Linked DNA regions of Homo sapiens: regions 1, 3 and 4 are each linked to region 2. The links are contacts of gene promoters, found by promoter capture Hi-C in blood cells and fetal thymus (Javierre and others, 2016). All regions are on one chromosome and are shown on one strand. The core of a region is centred on a gene start or on the middle of the fragment in contact, and the rest is flanking DNA. Distances in the headings are between cores, read along the strand shown.

Region 1 (3,468 bases), core at 452-2,951, about 28 Mb before region 2:
CCACGAATAAACAAAGGAGATCTCTGGCAGGGGAGGGAGAGGAAGAAGCGGGGGAAGGAGACGTCAGATCCTTCCCCAGCCAGAAAGTACCGAGACAGCCAACTGAGAGCAGAGCTGTCCTCCGACCTCAGCAAAGAGAATTCACTCCTACGATTATTTCCATTCCACAAGAGAGGGAGGGAAACAGATTGTTACCAACTCAATGATAGCAAAGTCTGCATCTGGATCAGGATGTTAATTCTCTAGACTACTGTCCAGTAGACTCTGCAAGAACAGGTTATCTAAAAAGTAACCGTTCTACTCAACATTTATTCCTAATGTTAAATATTAATCTCAACCCTAGTCAAAGTGCCTTACTGAACAATTAAGTCTTAAAAAATCTAAGTATGTTAACAAACTGCCTTTCCCGTTTCTTCCTTTAAAAAGTTCACTCCCCTTTTCGTTCTTTCCTTTTCACCTTCCTTTCGTCCCTCAAAATGGCTTTCTCTGTACATTTTAACTTCCTTTCCCCTCCATCTCCCTTATCCGAATAAGTCCTCTGAGACCCTTTTCACAACCCTGAGTTCTGAAGCTCCAAGCGCACACAGCGCTGTGTCCTCTCAAGCGTCTCCACAATGACTACCCTAAGTTATTAAACCTCTTCAATCCTCTGTCTTTTAGCAGTTGCTTTGCTCCTGCTAAGTTTTTAAAGCGGCACTCGAAAGAGGTTTGGAAACCATCCTCACTCATCCATCCAGCGCGCTCCAATCAGCCTCCCTCGCGGACCTGCCCCCCTCTCCCAGGGCCTCCATCCCGGTCCAGGAGTCCCTCTTCCCGCCTCAAACTTCCCGCAGACCCGCCCCGCGCCCTCCCAGGCTCGCCCGAGCCGCCGCCCCCTCCCCCTCCCGCCGCTCCCCACGTGCTGGGAGCCCGGGTCGCGGCAGGACCCACGCACCGGCTAAGTGCTAGCCATTCGCGGGTCTCCTCTCGCGGCCCGGTCGGCACCAAGCCGAAGAGGCCGGGGCAGGGCCGCCGGGCCGGCGCAAGGATGCGTTCTGCGGCCCCGGCCTGTACTCGCCGCTCACACGCCCCCTGCGCGCCAGGCCCGTACACCGCCACCGGCACTCACAGAGCCACCCGGCCTTCACCCGGCCGCTGGGCCGCCGCCTGGGCACCGCGCCGCGCCCGCCCTCCGCCCGGCCGGTTCCTGTCCTCTCCGCCACATCCTGACCCGCCCGCCGCCCCCTTTCTTACCGGCGGGCTTGGCGGGGCGGAGGGAGCCGACTCGGGTGGACGGCCTCCCCCGCGCCCAGGCCCGGGATCTCCGCCGCCCAGTCCTAGGGCTCCGGCGTCTCGGGGTAAGCAAGAGTCCGTGCGGGGGAGGGGGAAGGGGACAGACGCGGAGGGGAAGGGGAAGCCCCGGTCCGCAGCACCAACGCGCGATCCCCTGCGGAGTGGAGCTAACAATTCATTATTGAAGCACCAAGGGCGAGGGCAGCAAGAGCTATAAGTAACCAGTCGTCGCCGCCGCCGCCGCCGCCGTCGCGCGCGCGCTCCCGCTCCCTCCGCTTATCTGCCCCCGGCAGCCGCCATGACGCCGAGAAAGCAAGCGAGCGCAACCGTCTCCGTCGTAGCCGCCGCCGCCACCGAGGTCGCCGTCGCCTCCGCCTCCCGCGCGACGTAAGCGCCTCTGCTCACTCCCCTTCCCGACAGAGCGCGAGGCGGGCGGGCGCGCGCACGCCGAAGCCTTTCTGCTCGCGCGCGGGAGGCGGGAGGGACTACGTTGAAGGGTCGTGGGCGTAGGAAAAAAGCGATTGGTGCTGGGGCGGGGCGGGGGGGGCGAGTGCGCGCACGCGCACGAATGGGAGTGCGCACGGCGGATGCGCAGAGGCTGTCGGACTCTGACTGCGCGGAGACCGCTGGACTCTGGTCGCGGCCTTAGTCCGCTGATCCTCGCTTGGGTGCCCGCCCTTAGCGGCCCGGCGTTGAATTCCGGGAAGTGGGAGCTTCAGGCTCGCTCCGTGCGGGTATGGGCGCTAATGTCACTTGGGATGGTTGCGCAAGGACATCGCGGCGGACACTGACAAGGAACCGGGGAGGAACGGGGGTGGGGAGAGACTGCGATGGGACTCGGGAAGCCGGGAAGGGCCGCGCTGAATAAGCCTAAGGGGCCGGGTCGCAAGGAGTGTCGGGTAGCACAGGCCTCGGCTCAGTCGGAGCGCCAGGCCTCAGGGTCCGGGCGGGGGCTGCTGCGTCACACCAGGCAGCCTGGGAACGCAACTGTTGGGCAACCGTGGTGGCCTCTCGCCACCTCTTACGCTTGGGCGATCTGCGATTGACGCATCCTGGGAGCTGATGTCCCGCACGGGCGGGGCGCCGGAGGAGGAGAGAAAATAGAGACCCGGTTGTTGACAGCCTGTGATGCCGCTTGATTCATGTGTGGGTGGCCTGGTTTAGAAATGTACCACCCTTCCTTTCTAGGTTCCTCCCCGGAGGGCGGGGTGACGGGTGCGGCGCCGAATCGCAACAAAAAACGCTGCTCGAGGGATGTTAGTAACTGTCTCAGCTTAAGTTGCTGCCTTTTAGCTTACAGTTTGTATCGTAACTGTAATTGTGGATCTTAGTTAAATCCCTTCAGTGTGTTGGAAACATATTTTTAAGTGTATTTTTGAAACATACTTAGAGCATTTTGAAATGCTTTTTTGAAAGCGTTTTTTAAATCAAAATTCTGTTACACTTTATTTTTTTCAGTCTGCAGATGAACTTGACTCACTCAAGGTTAATGATTTTTGTTTTTTATTTATGTTTGTAGAGGCGGGGTTTTGTCATGTTGCTAGGTTGGTGTTGAACTCCTGAGCTCGAGCGATCCACCTGCCACTGCCTTCCAAAGTGCTGGAATTACAGGCGTGAGCCACGGCGCCCGGTGGCCGAGGTTAATAATAATTAAAAGTTTCTAATCCCATTGTTCAGTTATTTGATTTGGTGTAAAGGCGCACTTTCCAAGTCAGATGAGTTTGTGGTAACATACATTCCCCAAATAATTATTTTTCCCTTGTGGGAAATATTCCAGTTTTAGGCTACCAGCTGTTTAAACAGTTTGGTTCAAATCCTTCAAAAAAATCTCAAAACATAACTCCACATATGTATTTACTACATATTGAAGGGTGTATTCACTTGGAGAAGTAGGAGAAAGCAAACAGATGCCAATGGCCTTTTTGAAAACATGTATCTATCAGCAATAATTGAATAGCAAAACGAAGTGGAACACTACCATCCTTTGCAATATTAGATAGTTTTAATACTGGGTTGTGAGGAATGAAAAGATCATACAAATCGTCATTTCTGAAGTCATTTCTGAAGTCGTCATTTCTGAACTGAGTGCTAATTTTTCATATTAAGCTTTATGTTAATATCCTTAATGAGAGGAACTTCCTGTGCCCGTAATTTCTCCAGAGAAACTATTAACATACACAGAATGTTGTAATCAGA
Region 2 (3,603 bases), core at 386-2,885:
ATTAACAGTTAAAGAATATCCTGGTCTCCATTTCTGCCATTTTAAAAGTAAGTAACCATTAATTACAGAAGCGTTCCTAATAGGTGGTAAGGTGGTCATCTAGGGTATAGCTAAGGGCCAGACTCGAGTCAATTAGAATCCTGGGACCTGTCAAACGCAGTCCTGCGGAGCAGCCTTCAGACAGTGAATCTATAAAATGGATGGTTTCTTTCTTTCTTTTTTGAGACGGGGTCTCCCTGTCACCCAGGCTGGAGTGTAATGGTGCCATCTCGGCTCACTGCAACTTCCCCTTTCCGGGTTCAAGGGATTCTCCCACCTCAGCCTTCCAAGTAGCTGAGATTACAGGCACCCGCCATCATGCCCGGCTAATTTTTGTATTTTTGTAGAGACGGGGTTTCACCATGTTGGTCAGGCTGGTCTTGAACTCCTGAGCTCAGGTGATCCTCCCCCACTCGGCCTCCCAAAGTGTTGGGATTATAGGCGTGAGCCACCGCGCCCGCCCGGATGAATTTTCAAATAGAAACAATCCAGTTTCCCACATCACACGGAGATTGTGTGGATGGGTAATCCATGAAAAGCCTGGTGCTGGCACTCAGTCCCAATAAATGTTAGCTAAAAATTAGGAACTTTTCAAAGGGATGAATGTGCTTTCTAATAGAAGTAGCTGCCAGTGACATCTTGGGAGCCTCTTTTTAAAAGCAAAAAATTATTTCATCTTAAATTTTCACAAGTTCAGATTTTTATGTACCTGATTTTAACGGAGTATGAAACAGCTTGCTCTCGTAGTTACTCACCGTCATATGTTAATCGTATCATTTCTGAGCTGTTTTTTGATTTTACAAACCCTTAAATTAAGAAACGGATTAGGAACCGCCCATTAACACTGTTGGCAAATGATTTAAAATCAGGGTTGCTGGTTTTTCTGTGATAATCTATCGGCTTCAAGACGCACAGATCTCACTTTCATGGAAAGAAGTTGCCTGATACAGTTTTCCACCGGAGAGAAAAATAAAGGCTGGTACTTGGAACCTGCAAGCCGTGCATTTGGAACCTCGGACTCAAGTGCCTATTACGTAATTCCACAGCGTCCCGGCCTCCAGGCCGTTTCCCGAGCCCTCCAGCGGAGCGGGGGATAAGGTTACCACGCCCGCGGTGGCCGGGGACACTCTGAGTTTCGCGTGTGGCTTTTAGGGACGTTTATATTTGAATTTCCCTGAACCGCCGAGTGTGGGCGGTGGCGCAGATCCGTCCCGGAAACCTCCGGGCTCCTTCCCGCCTTTCTCAGGCCCGGCCCCTCCAAGGGGTCCCCGCGGGGCGGCGGGAGGGCCCTGGGCCCAGAGCCGCGCGGGTGGGCAGTCCCAGGCGTCCTTCCTTACAGCCCTGAGCCTGGTCCGGGAACCGCCCAGCCGGGAGGGCCGAGCTGACGGTTGCCCAAGGGCCAGATTTTAAATTTACAGGCCCGGCCCCCGAACCGCCGAAGCGCGCTGCCTGCTCCCCATTGGCCCATGGTAGTCACGTGGAGGCGCCGGGGCGTGCCGGCCATGTTGGGGAGTGCGGCGCCGCGGCCCGCGCCACCTCCGCCCCCCGCGGCTTGCCTCCAGCCCGCCCCTCCCGGCCCTCCTCCCCCCGCCCGCCGCTCCGTGCAGCCTGAGAGGAAACAAAGTGCTGCGAGCAGGAGACGGCGGCGGCGCGAACCCTGCTGGGCCTCCAGTCACCCTCGTCTTGCATTTTCCCGCGTGCGTGTGTGAGTGGGTGTGTGTGTTTTCTTACAAAGGGTATTTCGCGATCGATCGATTGATTCGTAGTTCCCCCCCGCGCGCCTTTGCCCTTTGTGCTGTAATCGAGCTCCCGCCATCCCAGGTGCTTCTCCGTTCCTCTAAACGCCAGCGTCTGGACGTGAGCGCAGGTCGCCGGTTTGTGCCTTCGGTCCCCGCTTCGCCCCCTGCCGTCCCCTCCTTATCACGGTCCCGCTCGCGGCCTCGCCGCCCCGCTGTCTCCGCCGCCCGCCATGGCGACTGCGACCCCCGTGCCGCCGCGGATGGGCAGCCGCGCTGGCGGCCCCACCACGCCGCTGAGCCCCACGCGCCTGTCGCGGCTCCAGGAGAAGGAGGAGCTGCGCGAGCTCAATGACCGGCTGGCGGTGTACATCGACAAGGTGCGCAGCCTGGAGACGGAGAACAGCGCGCTGCAGCTGCAGGTGACGGAGCGCGAGGAGGTGCGCGGCCGTGAGCTCACCGGCCTCAAGGCGCTCTACGAGACCGAGCTGGCCGACGCGCGACGCGCGCTCGACGACACGGCCCGCGAGCGCGCCAAGCTGCAGATCGAGCTGGGCAAGTGCAAGGCGGAACACGACCAGCTGCTCCTCAAGTGAGTGCTAGCTGGCGGCCGCGTTAGCGCCAAGGAGGGGCGGGGGCGCAACCGCGGCGACCAGCTCACCGGGTTCTGCCGTGGGGAGGGAGCAGAGGCCAGGATGCACGCGTCCTTCTGAAGGAACAGGGTCTCGGTCTCCGGAAAGGAGAAAGAATCTAGAGTTCATAGCGGAGCAGGGGTCGCGGAGGGGGCTCGAGCTGTAGCGCTGGGGGGCCGTGATGCCCATTTCTAGATTTTGGATACCCGCTGGGACGTGGTAAGTGCGCGCCTGGGACTGCCGAGAAGGAGCTCCCGCTTTCGCACTCGAATCCGGGGAGCCGGCGCGGAGAGGCGGCCCCTCAGGCCCCAGGTGCGGGGAGCTGGAGCGCGAGCGCGCGCTCGCGTGCGCGCCCCAGTTTCCGGCCGGCGCGAGACAAAGCGTCTAGCGGATTTGCAGTGCCGGGATGGGCGGCCGGGGAGGACTGGCAGCCCGCCTCTAGAATGAATGAGCTTCGCGCGGGCAGAGAGAGGAAGGGGAGGGACCTTCCCGCAGCATCCGCGTCTCCTGGGGGTGGGTCCCGCTTTGGCGCGCTCAGTCTTGGCCCTGTGACGTTTTGCGAAGATTCTACGCCTGCTTTAGGCGGGAGAGAGAGGCGGAGCTTGATCCGTGCGCCTCCAGCCAGCCCCGGGCAAGTTAGGTTTGCTAGCTGGTTAGCTTTCTCTGGGGAAATGTGTCCTGTCCCAGCGGGGATGGTGCGGTCCCTCGGGTGGTTCTGCGCAGGGAAGGAAAGCTGGGTTTGTGCATGTCACGGCTACCGTTCTTAGAATTGCGGTTCTCCTACCCCTCAGGCAGCGGCCCTCTGTCCCCAGCTTTTGCCTCCTCGTAGTATAGTCAGGCTTTCGGGTAGAGACTGTGCTTAGTACCCCTTAGTCGACCACTGTGCAGATAGTAGACCAGGGCAGGTGACAGGGTGCTGTGTAAATGCTGAGTGTTTGAGCGAAGGAGAGTTTGTAATTCACCTAAGCGAGTGCGAGTTTTCATTCCAGTGCACAAGGATACATTTGCAGACCTTTGCTGGCCTTATTTTGACTTTCTGATAAGCAAAATGGCCTGTCATCAGTAGGCAACAAGTGTTGATGTCATGCTTTAGAGATTTGCAAAATTTGGGTCTGAAATTCATGGTCGCCATTAGCACTGCCAGCTGAAATTTCTGGAGGTACCTTATTCTCACTTTGACACCCTTTGCCCCTGGA
Region 3 (3,483 bases), core at 447-2,946, about 37 Mb after region 2:
TCCCATCCTGCTCCATTCCACTTAAGGGCCTCCAGCATTAATCTGTCCACAGAACATATCCAACCCTGGGGATAAGAACACTACTAATGCCCAGACCATGTCTTTTGGAGAGAGTAGAGAATATAGGAGATGGCTGTTTCTGTTATTGCAAAGTTTTCATGCTTCCAAATTTACTTAGGGTTTTCAAATCACTTTGGTTCTTTGAGGGTAAAGTTAGGATAAATGGTCTATTAAACCTCTATGTTCCTAGGTCCTCCAGACCGTGCTGAGTGCATGTTACATACGTTTACATTTATATGTATGCATTTGTATGTGTACGTGTGCATATAAAGCTTAATCTACTTTCACAAAAAGAAGTTCAGTATAAAAATGAAAATAGCTTTTCGTGTTTTCCTTCATTAAAAATGAAACAACGAAGAGCTTGGCACAGACTTACTGCTCTCAAAACCTGTAGAATTAAAGCTTACTGACTCATGAGAACGAGAACTGTCTCATAGTTAACGTTAGAGAAGCATCCTGGAGTGGTTGTTGTTAGTAATACTGTCTGTGGAGCACAGTAGCGTCGCAGTAGAAGTTAGACCAATCCCACCTAAGTAGTCAGAGAATCTTAAAAAGTAAAGCCCAGTAATGTTTACCTTAAGGGTCTGTTTCTGGGGAATTAAAAAATTAAACATGGAACTGTGCCAAGTTTTAAAGTTTCCAAAAACGACAAGGTATTTACCACTGAAATTTGGGAAAACCACATACTAATAGTATTCCATTCTTTACTTTTCTAGAACATTTTTAGTAGACATTAATGCAGGTGTGCTAAAGTAGAAATCACTGTCCCAGAGTACTGTGTTGGACCATTTGGAAGGAGCCATGTATCTCCCATTACCTATACAATTTGGTATCATTCGATTAGATACGATAATAAGAATATTTATTTATATGTACTTAATTTTTCAAGAAATGTTTTTTTGGTGTCCATAAATCTGGTCCCTTGGAGTGATTGAATTCCGTACTTCAGAGTTTAGACAATAAGAGGCAGATACGTTTAGAGTAACTTAAACTGATATTAGATCTACTTTCCCCCATATAATAAAAATTGAGAAAAAGTAGACTTCAGGCAAAGTATTATCAACTCTTTATTGTGCCTTGAGTGAACTAGATAGCATTTTATTCTTTCATTCTGACTTTCTTAAAGTGTTTAGACATTTCTTCCTTGTGCACAACTAAAATAATTTATGGAGTGCAGGTCCAAAGTAGTTTTTAGAGGGATATTTCTTTTTCTAAAGAACGAACCAAAAAGCCTCAACAAAACAGTGTAAAAGGCAGAGTATTGCTTATATAGAAGCTCAAAAACAGAGATATTTGTTTGGCATATTTTAAATTTCGGAGTAATGCATATTCAGAGGAAAAGTTACCTTATTTAAGTAAACGAAACTATTCGGACTCCTCGTGGTAGGGATAATATGGAAAATGTTAGAAATATAGAACTTTAAAGCTGAAAGAGCCTTAGTCATTTTGTCTAAATGCCTTCCCCATTTACCAATGAGGAATTAGATCAATAGAGATAGAATAACTTCTAAACACCAATTTGTGGCAGAACAGATAAAACTTTAATCATTCATGAAACCAAATATTAGTTCACAGGATTGAGACAAAATGCAGTGTATTTGACTTGACCAGAGAAGCAAGACTCAGGTTCTGGTTCCAGCTTTTTCTCTTTTACTATAGACAAAACATTTAACACTGGACTTCTTGTTACTCTCTTTGGAAATAATATCTCTTCTAACAAGCTGCTGGGTTTTTTTGTTTTCTTTTTTTTCCTCTTGCTCTTTCACCCCGTCTGAAGTGCAGTGGCTCAATCTCTGCTCACTGCAACCTCTGCCTCCAGGGTTCAAGCGATTCTCCTGCCTCAGCCTCCCAAGTAGCTGAGATTATAGGCGCCCACCACCATGCCCGACTAGTTTTTCTATTTTTGGTAGAGACAGCGTTTCACCATGTTGGCCAGGCTGGTTTTGAACCCCTGACCTCAAGTGGTTGGTCCACCTTGGCCTCCCAAAGTGCTGGGATTACAGGCGTGAGCCCTGGCACCCGGCCTCAAACTGCTATTAAAAAAACAAAAACAGCTATGATTGTATACTTATATAACACGTTAGTTTTCTTTTTTTTGGTTTTTTTGTTTGTTTGTTTTTTTGAGATGAAGTCTAGCTCGTGTCCCCCAGGCTGGAGTGCAGTTGTGCGATCTCGGCTCACTACGACCTCCGCCTCCTGGGTTCGAGCGATTCTCCTGCCTCAGCCTCCCGAGTAGCTTAGATTACCTAAAATTACCTAGAAAAAAATATGAAACAGTGTACAGTACCCAGCAGTCAGGTGTCAGTGCTCAAGATTTTTATTAAGAGTGACGATCTGAAGTGCAAGCATTTACTGAAATGGAAATGATACTGCACAACATTTTATTTGAAAATTAACATGTTATAGGCCGGGCGTACTGGAGGCCTTACATAGTAACCCAGGGGTATAAGGATATAAAGTTGCATTTTCTCATACAACTCCACTTCCTTTTTTACGTTAAGGTATTATATTCCCTAAAGAGCCTTGTTCTTCTCTATACTTAATACTGCATCAACTCCAAGAAGCTCTTAATTAAAAGAAGATCATCTGGGCTCTTAAGTTGCATTAAGTTAGCAAAAACTACTGCAAAACTGTGACGATTCATAAGATTTTTTTTAAATTCATTTAACAGATGTTAAAATGAAACTGTACTTCACAGAGTCAGTGAAGTACACAGATCTTAATTCATTGTTTAGTAACTTTTGTGGATTGTATAATGCTTTGGCTTCTATTTCAAGTTTTCTTTTTTAAGGGGGAAAGATACTGTTGTCATTTTGAGAAAGGTAGATGGCACTTTTTGTTTTCCTTGTGTAAGAGAAACGGATTGTTATGAAAGCTTTGAACTTTCCTGGAGTTCGAGAGTACACTGGTCCTCTAAGTGCGGTCTCCAAATCACGATGATCAGCATCACTTGTTGGAACTTGTTGGGAATGCAAATTATCAAGCCCCACCCCAGACCTTTGTGATCTAAAAGCCCTCCAGGTGATTCTGATCCACACTGAAGCACGAGAACCACTGACCTTAGGAACTGTTACCTGTTCCTTTGCTTCCGTAGAGTGAAGTAAAAAGTGAGGAACTCAGAAGAAACCAAATTATCTCTCTTTTAGAGTATTTTTTCAGGAATCTTTACCGTATTTATCCTGTGTAAATTGTTTTCTCTGACTGTATCTGTACTAGACTTGGCATGTTTTCTCCTCTTTACAGTTCAATCTTTGTAGAGCTGTTTTCTTGCCAAATTTCAAAGAAAATATTTTGTTGGCTGAAATCCTTGTTTTCATAGATCAGTTGGTTTAGAGCCAAGTTTTGCAACACAGCCTGAATGAAATTGCTTTCAACTTTTAAAATGTCTTGAAATTGGTTGAACTAAGGAAAAATAATCCTAAG
Region 4 (3,270 bases), core at 299-2,798, about 37 Mb after region 2:
GCACCCCAGCATGGGAGACAGGGACCCTGTCTCAATAAATATATATTTTTTTTTAAAGAGAGAATGCCTAAACTCAAATCCATTTTAATTTGTTGCCAAATTTAAGTTATAGAAAGTGAAATTAAATGTCACTAGGAAAAGCCCACATTTTAAAATATGTCAAAATTAGTGAGAAAAAAATCCCACTGGTCTATACGTACATCAGAAATCCCAAATTCAGCAGCTACTGCTAAATTCCGAAAGTTACTGGATTTACTAATTTATAATCGTAATCTAAAACCATTGTTGAGGAAACTATGAATTGTACAATTCAGAAAAGTAACTGAGATCCAAGCTGACATAATGTCTTTCACACGAATCTTGAGGCACTCAAAGCACCTCCATATACTGTAATATATATAATAGCTAATAGCTAACATATAGTATGAACTTATTACATACCAGTGAATACTCCAAGCTCTTCATACACGTGAATACCATGTTAAGCTCAAAACAATCCCATGAGAAGGGTACTATAACTACCTTATCTTGTGGATAAGGAAGATATAGAGACACTGAACAATCTCTCGCCCAAGTTTACAAAACTAGGAAACAAGTAGTCTCCCTTCACCATATTACACTGCCATCAAACATCTTGGGCATCTAACCTGAGAACTAAATCTAATTTCAACCTGTTAGTTTAATTATACACTTAACAAAGAAAAAGCGGGTCCAGATCCAAAGAGCATTGGTGAAAAGAAATAAAAGGAGTACTACTTATTTTATGCACACACCTCTTCACCACCTGCTTGACCACTCCACAAACATGCAGGATTTTCAAGCTTTTAGATGAGAAAACTAATCACCTGACATCATCTCTAAATTCTCTGCCCGTTATTCTATCCCTATTTTCTTTGTTGTCCTTTCCTATATTTATCTATTTATGAATTACGCTTCCGTACAGGAGCTTAACCTCTCCACTGCAGGTACGTTATCTGTTGTCTTCCTGCCTGTCTTCAGTGCACGGAAGAAATATTTGTTCCTTTAGCAACCTAGTTAATCTGTTCCCAGCTGAAGCCCGTCAGAGAAGCAGAAGCAGCAGTCTTAGTTTGAAAACTAAACACGAAAATAGGCTCCTCAAATTTCCACAACTCAGCACCTGCCCTGAAGAGGCGGGGGCTCTGACCAGACCCAAACCTGGTCAGTGTTATCCTCTTTCTCTTTCTGCCAGCCACAGGAGCCGTCGGGACACCCAACAGTCGTTCAGGGAAACGGGGCTGGGGGCGTCTGGGAAGAGGAAACTGAACACAAGCCCCGAGCTGCCGCTACCTTGAGGATCTCGCGGCCGCCCACCGACAGCGCCACATGCCGGCTCTGGAGGCCGCACTGGATATCCTGGGCGCGCGTGCCTGGCGGCACCTGAACTTCAATGAACACCTCCTCCAAGGTCTGGTACCACTGGCCCCACGGGGTCCCGCACGGTACCACCCCACTCCGCTCCTCAAACGGGGCCGACATAATCCAGTCCCTCCCGGCCGCGGCCGCACCAGGCGGAGCCGAGCGCACGCGCGGAATCCCACGCTTAGGCTACGCCTCGGCCTCTCCGCTCGGGTCACTGCGCATGCGCAGGAACGCAAGCTAGCGCTTTGGTGTGCGTGTTCGTTTTTCCCTTTGAATGGCCGTTTACGGCACCGGCAGGCCCCGGATGAAAGAACTGAAATCCAGAAAAGTTCACATGCAACGAACAATGGGACAGAATTGGAACCAGTGAAGCCGGAACTCACTACACCGTCCCCTAAGTGACGCCAAAATGCACTTTCTAACGTCTCCGGAGGGAAGTGCGCTTGCGCAAATGCTAGGTTACACTTGAGTAACTCCGGGAATGACTGGGTGGGTGGGGCGGGGAACAGTAACGGTCTCCTATTGGATGGCAGCCTAAACTCGCAGGCCAGCTAATTGGACGCAATCAGAACCCAGCATTCTTTCTTCGTGTTCCTGTGCGGGATTGGTGTGCCCAGGGGTTTGGCTTTCCAATTGGCTAACGCCGGGGTGGGTGGGGAATGTGGGGAGATTTGAATTTGAAACCGGTAGGGAGTGATAATCCGCATTCAGTTGTCGAGGAGTGCCAGTCACCTTCAGTTTCTGGAGCTGGCCGTCAACATGTCCTTTCCTAAGGCGCCCTTGAAACGATTCAATGACCCTTCTGGTGCGTAAGGGGGAAAGAGCTGGGGGACGGGAGACGCCCTAACGCCCTTTGCCTCTTTCAGCTCCCTTCTTGGGAGGCAAGCAGGAGGCGATTTTAGGGTCGGGCTGGGGCTCATTCAGTTGATTGATTTTTCTCAAATATGCTCTAAGCATCTGTTACATGCCAAGCACTAATCAGGATGCTAAGGATACCGCAGTGAAACAGTCTCCGCCCCGTGGGGCTTACATTCAGGCGGGGAATACTGTCAATAAACAGCGGTAATGGAGAAACTACAGCAGGGCGAAGGGAATGGACCCGAGACGTTGGTAGCTACTTGATTTTCAAGTCCGAGAGGGCCTCACTGATAAGAACACTGGAGTATTACTTGTAGTCTGAACTTGTGCATTTCTTTTGTGTATTCCATTTGGGCATAAAAGAAGGAAGATTAGTAAAGGCAGTTTATGGGTGTAAAATTAGAGCAGCAGCACTTATTGAAAACATAAACAATGAAGTTATGGCTGATATTGACCACTTATACCTCAAGCACCGTACTAAGGCTTTACATCGATTATTAGTTATGTTAATTTCCCACCAACTCTAAGGGGTAATCCTATTATTATTTTATTGATAAAAAGACTGAGACTTAAATTTGCTCAGTGCTACATTACCAAAGTGACCGGACTGGAATATGAACCCAGCCCCCATCGTGTGCTCTTAACACCGCAATGCACAGCACAGTAACCAGGAAGCCTTAGCTGTGTTTGGTAGGCACTCATCATTTAAGATGCTGTATGCGGCCGGGCGCGGCGGCTCACGCCTGTAATCCCAGCACTTTGGGAGGCCGAGGCAGGTGGATCACGAGGTCAGGAGATCGAGACCACCGTGAAACCCCGTCTGTACTAAAAATACAAAAAAAATTAGCCAGGCGCGGTGGCGGGCGCCTGTAGTCCCAGCTGACTACAGGCTGAGGCAGGAGAATGGCGTGAACCCGGGAGGCGGAGCTTGCGATGAGCCGAGATCGCGCCACTGCACTCCAGCCTGGGCGACAGAGCAAGACTCTGTCTTACAGAAAAAAAAAAAATGCTGTATGCTGGGACTGTGCTACT

What was found. The method cuts DNA at HindIII sites, captures the fragments that hold promoters and counts their contacts. A CHiCAGO score of 5 or more calls a contact.
Region 1: the fragment with the promoter of CHD1 here is called in contact with the fragment with the promoter of LMNB1 in region 2 in 1 of 17 cell types (total CD8 T cells); the score reaches 7.1 in total CD8 T cells.
Region 3: a fragment that was not itself captured here is called in contact with the fragment with the promoter of LMNB1 in region 2 in 1 of 17 cell types (naive CD4 T cells); the score reaches 6.0 in naive CD4 T cells.
Region 4: the fragment with the promoter of NUDCD2 here is called in contact with the fragment with the promoter of LMNB1 in region 2 in 1 of 17 cell types (total CD8 T cells); the score reaches 9.4 in total CD8 T cells.

The regions. Positions count from the first base shown.
Region 1 is chr5:98,927,306-98,930,773 of GRCh38, forward strand. It overlaps CHD1 (chromodomain helicase DNA binding protein 1), which reads right to left and starts at 1,702. Exons shown (of 36, transcript NM_001270.4): 1 at 1,234-1,702. It overlaps CHD1-DT (CHD1 divergent transcript), which reads left to right and starts at 1,257. Exons shown (of 4, transcript NR_151718.1): 1 at 1,257-1,337. LOC100289230 (a long non-coding RNA gene) reads left to right here and starts at 1,829. Exons shown (of 1, transcript NR_036530.1): 1 at 1,829-3,468. RefSeq lists silencers at 846-1,475, 1,736-1,945 and enhancers at 1,719-2,617, 2,106-2,435. The HindIII fragment of the contact is 7,543 bases long and covers 1-3,376 here.
Region 2 is chr5:126,775,501-126,779,103 of GRCh38, forward strand. It overlaps LMNB1 (lamin B1), which reads left to right and starts at 1,636. Exons shown (of 11, transcript NM_005573.4): 1 at 1,636-2,367. The coding sequence starts at 2,009. LMNB1-DT (LMNB1 divergent transcript) reads right to left here and starts at 986. Exons shown (of 4, transcript NR_134485.1): 1 at 795-986. RefSeq lists silencers at 413-462, 1,113-1,762, 1,963-2,042, 2,353-2,402, 2,613-2,722 and enhancers at 1,397-2,197, 3,213-3,302. The HindIII fragment of the contact is 4,360 bases long and covers 1-3,603 here.
Region 3 is chr5:163,506,453-163,509,935 of GRCh38, forward strand. All of the region lies in intron 1 of MAT2B (methionine adenosyltransferase 2 non-catalytic beta subunit), which reads left to right. Among named protein-coding and RNA genes, the nearest start is that of MAT2B, 2.6 kb to the left of the region's middle. The HindIII fragment of the contact is 2,473 bases long and covers 461-2,933 here.
Region 4 is chr5:163,458,554-163,461,823 of GRCh38, forward strand. NUDCD2 (NudC domain containing 2) reads right to left here and starts at 1,549. Exons shown (of 4, transcript NM_145266.6): 1 at 1,309-1,549. The coding sequence starts at 1,497. It overlaps HMMR (hyaluronan mediated motility receptor), which reads left to right and starts at 2,079. Exons shown (of 18, transcript NM_001142556.2): 1 at 2,079-2,185. The coding sequence starts at 2,140. RefSeq lists enhancers at 1,266-1,515, 2,266-2,325 and a silencer at 1,846-1,935. The HindIII fragment of the contact is 3,644 bases long and covers 820-3,270 here.